Linked DNA regions of Homo sapiens: region 2 is linked to region 1. Evidence: promoter capture Hi-C in human tissues and cell types (Jung and others, 2019). All regions are on one chromosome and are shown on one strand. The core of a region is centred on a gene start or on the middle of the fragment in contact, and the rest is flanking DNA. Distances in the headings are between cores, read along the strand shown. Region 1 holds the start of SLC16A11 (solute carrier family 16 member 11). Region 2 overlaps RABEP1 (rabaptin, RAB GTPase binding effector protein 1).

Region 1 (2,700 bases), core at 1-2,500:
GGCCCCCGCCTCGTTCGCTACCCCAGATCCCAACAAGCTCCTGTCACCTCCTTCACCCTGAATGACCCGGGCATCCCACTTCCCTCACCAGCGAGGAGGCCCAGGCCGAGGTAGAGATGCAGCAGATCGCTGGCGAAAGCCGAGAAGACGAAGCCCAGCGAGGCGAGGACGCCCCCAACCATCACCACGGGGCGGGCCCCCCAGCGCGTGCTCAGGGCGCTGCCCACGGGGCCTGAAAGGGGGCGGAGTCAACGGAAGACACGCCCCCGGGCCCCCAAACTCTCTCCAACACTTCTCATTGGCTGTTTGCCTCCCTCGAACTAATGGTTCTTCTCCTTGACCTCAAGATGCACTCTTTTCTAGAGCCGGTTGCCCTTTCTCAGGTTGTCGGGTAATCAGGTGGGTCTCCCATCCCTCCACTCACGGCTCCTCCTCCCCGTTCCTGTCTCCCGCCTCAGGGCCCCCCTCACTGGCTGCCTGCTGCACGGCCAGGGCCAGGGCGCTGATCCACGCAGTGTCCTGGGCGCTTCGGTCAAAGTGCTCGGCAAGGTCAGGGAAGGCAAGGCCCAGCGAGCGCAGCAGCCCGTAGGACAGCCCGTTTATCGCGAAGGCTGCGGCCGCCACCACCCAGCCCCAGCCCCCATCCGGGGGTCCGGCGGGCTGGGGGGTCATCGCCGTCTGCGGGGTGGGGAAACATCTGTGAGAGAAGCCTCCACGCCTGTGCTTCCGCTGGGGAGCTGGCATCCCTGAGATCCAGCCTCTGGCTGCTCGCCCGGGGTGGGCCCGTCACTCCGAGCGCGATGGCGCGGGGCGGAGGGAGCCGGAGCCTGGCCTAGGGCTGGAACTCCCGGGTCCGCGCGAGGTACGGGGACGGGGACAGCCAGATCCCCAGGCCCGAGGTTCCCCGTCCCACGCACACTCCTTCCCCCTTACCCGACCTCTCCGGGCGGTGCGGGGAGGGGAAGGGTGAGGAAGGGCTGGGCCCGGCTTTCTCTCTGCTTCCCAGGCGGGCGGGGGCCCCGAAGGGGAGCGAGGGCAGCGATGGAGCCCAACTTGGACGGGCTCTCTCGGTAAACAGAGATCACCACAGGGGCCTGAGCCACCTGGGACGCGGGGTGTACGGAGGGCGGGGGCGAGCTGAAACAGCCAATCCGGCAAGCCGCGCGTGAGGCCAGACGCCAGTCCCACGGGGATTGAATTATGTACACACACAACCCCCAGGCCCGGGGGAGGGGGGAGCGGCGAGAAATGAATGCAGAGGGGCCCTGCCCTACTCACACGCATGCACCTGCCGCCTGCTGCGCGCAGGGGAGACACGTGGATTGCAAACCCCAGCGAGCCCAGGGTCCACCGCCAACGCGTGGAAATAGGGATGGTCCCCAAAACCTGAGGGGATGAGTAGTTTTGTTCTCAGGAACGTTGCCGAGGACCAGGTAAATCTCGGATATCAATCAGATCACAGACCTCCACCAAGTGCCAGCTCTGTGCTTAGAATAACAGACCCCCAGGCCGGGCGCGGTGCAAGCCTGTAATCCCAGCACTTTGGGAGGCCGATGTGGGTGAATCACCTGACGTCAGGAGTTCGAGGCCAGCCTGACCAACATGGCGAAACACCATATCTACTAAAAATACAAAAAAAATTAGCCGGGTGTGGTGGCGGGCGCCTGTAGTCCCAGCTACTTGGGAGGCTGAGGCGGGGAATCGCTTGAACCCGGGAGGCAGAAGTTGCAGTGAGCCAAGATCATGCCACTGCACTCCAGCCTGGGTGACAGAGAAAGACTCTGTCTCAAAAATAAATAAATAAACAAAAATAAAATAAATAAAATAAAATAACAGGTCCTCAAGGACAGAGGGATGAAACACGACTCCCTCAATGTGAAGACCTGCAGTGTACCAGGCACCGTTTACACATGCTATCACTTCATCTTATGATAACCCTATGAAGAAGGTGTCGCTTTTCTTTTTTTTTTTTTTTAGATGGAGTTTCACTCTGTAGCCCAGGCTGGAGTACAGTGGCGAGATCTCGGCTCATTGCAACCTCTGCCTCCTAAGTTCAAGCCATTCTCCTGCCTCAGCCTCCTGAGTAGCTGGGATTACGGGCGCCTGCCACCACTCCCAGCTAATTTTTGTATTTTTTAGTAGAGATGGGGTTTCGCCATGTTGGCCAGGCTGGTCTGGAACTCCTGACCTCAGATGATCCGCCCACCTCGGCCTCCCAAAGTGCTGGGATTACAGGAGTGAGCCAACGCGCCTGGCCGATGTCGTGCCTCTTTTATAGATGCAGTAACTGAAGCTCTCAGGGAAAAAATGGTATGGATATTTGAATTTAGGTCTGTCCAACTGTGGACCTACAAGGAGAACAATCCCAGGACTGAAACAAAATCTGGCACAGTTAAGGGAAAGATCCTGGATACAGCTTGAAGCAAACTGCCCTGGAAAGGGTGGAACCATTGCAGGGACAGAAAACTTATGAGTCTAAAATAAGGGGTCACTGGGAATAGAAAGGATTCTTGAGATCAGAATCTCTAAACACTTAGGTTAGAATTTTATTTTTTATTATGTATGTATGTATGTATGTATGTATGTATGTATGTATGTATGTGTGTGTGTATTTATTTATAGAGACAGGGTCTTGTCCAGGCTGAAGTGTAGTACTGCCATTATGGCTCACTGCAGCCTCCACCTCCCAGGCTCAAGCAA
Region 2 (2,700 bases), core at 113-2,612, 1.7 Mb before region 1:
GTGTGATGTAGAATTGTTTTGCCTGATAAGAGGTAATTTTGGTGCCCTTCAGGTACATAATGCTGGAAATAAACTTGGTAGACGTTGTGATATGTGTTCCAATTACGAAAAACAGTTACAAGGAATTCAGATTCAGGAGGCTGAAACGAGAGACCAGGTGAGTTTCTTCTGGATGCGCCAAATTGGATATTGTCGTTTTCATTGGAGGTGCAGAATTAATTGCCCCCCTCTCCGGCCCCAGCCCCATTTACATTATGAAGCATATCCATCTTGTTAAGTTATGAAATAACCTGGTACATGCAATGGCAGTTACATTTCCAGTGGGAGCTCACTAGGACTCTGCTTTTTTTTTTTTTGTTTTTGTTTTTGTTTGTTTTTTTTGAGAGGGGGTCTCGCTCTATTGCCAGGCTGGAGTGCAGGGGGGATCTCAGCTCACTGCAACTTCCGACCCCCTGGTTCAAGTGATTCTTCTCCCTCAGCCTGCCGAGTAGCTGGGATTACAGGGACACGCCACCACCCCCAGCTATTTTTTGTATTTTTAGTAGAGATGGGGTTTCACCATGTTGCCTAGGATGGTCTCAAACTCCTGACTTCATGATCCACCTGCCTCAGCCTCCCAAAGTGTTGGGATTACAGGTGTGAGCCACCGCGCTCGGCCAGGACTCTGTTTTTGTATATCTGCACAGGTCTGCCCAACTCTTAAAGGGACACTACCTAATCTCTTCCACCCTGCCCCTTCCGCCTAAGGCCTAAAAGTGATTTTAAGTACATGGCAAGTACTTTATGATATGGAGATCTCAGGGAGATAAAAGGTTGATTGTTGCCTCCAGTAGAATAAAGGCTTAATGGAATGTTATATTAATCAGAATTTGTGTCCTTCAGTGCATATTACTCATTTCTTGTCATAAATTTGTTGAATTAAGGTTAATAAGTTCCCAGAAATTAAGCTTTGGTAGATTTGGTATGCTGAGATTGATAAATCTTCAGTACTTTTTCAAGTGCAGTGTTTAATAATGGGCACCTTGATAGCAGTTAGGAAATAATGTAGAAATTCATGAGAGTGGGCTTGTCAAAGTCTACGTAAGAAAGATACTTTTCCCTCATATTTCCAAATTGTTCTTTGGTTGTTATGAAGATTGTTCCCTTAGCCTTCAAAATAACTTCAAGCCAATTAGAATGATGGTTTAATATTTTCAAATGTCATTGCTATTGAGTTCCTTCATACACTGTGTGCTTTACGCATAGATGTTTCAAAGGTAAATTTCTAAATGTATTTGCAAAACTAATGTAGTTGGCCCCTGATAGTGTGGTGTAGGAATGGTTTTCATAAACATTTCAGTAGACTGTTTTAAAGCCTGGCTAAAAATTAGTCAGAAAAAGAAGTGGGAAAAGGGTGTTCATGGAGAGAAAAAATATACAAAGAACAGAGTTAGGAAAGAAAATGATGTATTGTAGGAAGTATGAGTAGTTATGTGGCTGGGCACAGGGGGTGACTGTTACGAAATAATGGGAATGTAAGCTACAAGGGAAAGCCATGAAGACATCACTTAGGGAGGGGTGATGATTGAAGAGATTTAAATTTTACCCTGAAGCCGGGCATGGTGGCTCACGCCTATAATCCCAGCACTTTGGGAGGCCGAGGCGGGCCGATCACCTGAGGTTAGGAGTTCATAGACCAGCCTGACTAACATGGAGAAACCCCACCTCTACTAAAAATGCAAAATTAGCCAGGTGTGGTGGTGCATGCCTGTAATCCCAGCTACTCGGGAGGCTGAGGCAGGAGAATCCCTTGAACCCCAGGAGGTGGAGGTTGCAGTGAGCCGAGATTGCAGAGCGAGAGACTCTTGTCTCAAAAAAAAAAAAAAAAAAATTTACCCTGAAGACTTTGAGAGGCATTTAGAGTTTTAAGTAGGGAAATTATATTATTTCACTTTTATAAAATTTCTGGTGTTAGTGTGGATTGTAGACTGGAGACAGAGGATACACTCTAGTTAGGGAGAACAGTGTCATGGTCTAGAGGATCTGAGGGAGAAGCAGATGTTTTCAGATGAGATGTGTGTGAAAAATGATTTGTTAACTGTAAACCACAGTACAGTTGTCTCTTGAGGTCATTTATCTAATTTCTGTCTGAATTAGAAAATCTGTGGTGTTTCCCAGAAAAAGACATAAGAGATTTTTTTTTAAAATTCTGGAGTTAGATTTAAAAAAAAAAAAATTATAAAAGGATTCTGGTTTTTCTAATTGACTTTTAAAATGATACAGGTGAAAAAACTACAGCTGATGCTAAGGCAAGCTAATGACCAGTTAGAGAAGACAATGAAAGATAAGCAGGAGCTGGAAGACTTCATAAAGCAAAGCAGCGAAGATTCGAGTCACCAGGTAAGGGAGGGTTTATAGACTGTGGCCCATGAGGGATGACTGGGTTATTTAAATGAAAGATTCAAAAAATATAGTCATGTTTTTTTTTGCCTTGAAGATTTGGCAGTTTTATTTTCCCTCAGGTAAAAAGATTTCTTACTGATCATTCTGTGATCTCTGTTTTACAGATTTTTAAAGAATAACTTTCAAAATAATTGGTCAGTAAATGCCAGGAGGTTCTGATTCTCCTTTCCTTTATTTGTATTAGTTAGGTTTTCCTGCTGCACTGGAAACTTGCTGACAAAGATACTAATTATTTTCTTTTAAACTTTTTAAAAGTAT

The links. The method cuts DNA at HindIII sites, captures the fragments that hold promoters and counts their contacts. A contact is called where the count stands out against the background at its distance.
Region 2: a fragment that was not itself captured here is called in contact with the fragment with the promoter of SLC16A11 in region 1 in 1 of the 25 tissues and cell types used here (dorsolateral prefrontal cortex).

Annotation. Positions count from the first base shown.
Region 1 is chr17:7,042,842-7,045,541 of GRCh38, forward strand. It overlaps SLC16A11 (solute carrier family 16 member 11), which reads right to left and starts at 1,251. Exons shown (of 5, transcript NM_001370549.1): 1 at 934-1,251; 2 at 471-678; 3 at 89-232. The coding sequence starts at 672. It overlaps LOC124903909 (a long non-coding RNA gene), which reads left to right and starts at 226. Exons shown (of 2, transcript XR_007065598.1): 1 at 226-399. RefSeq lists silencers at 598-657, 728-857. The HindIII fragment of the contact is 14,065 bases long and covers 1-2,700 here.
Region 2 is chr17:5,362,860-5,365,559 of GRCh38, forward strand. It overlaps RABEP1 (rabaptin, RAB GTPase binding effector protein 1), which reads left to right. Exons shown (of 18, transcript NM_004703.6): 10 at 53-157; 11 at 2,263-2,379. It overlaps LOC105371505 (a long non-coding RNA gene), which reads right to left and starts at 53. Exons shown (of 2, transcript XR_934178.3): 1 at 1-53. The HindIII fragment of the contact is 7,517 bases long and covers 1-2,700 here.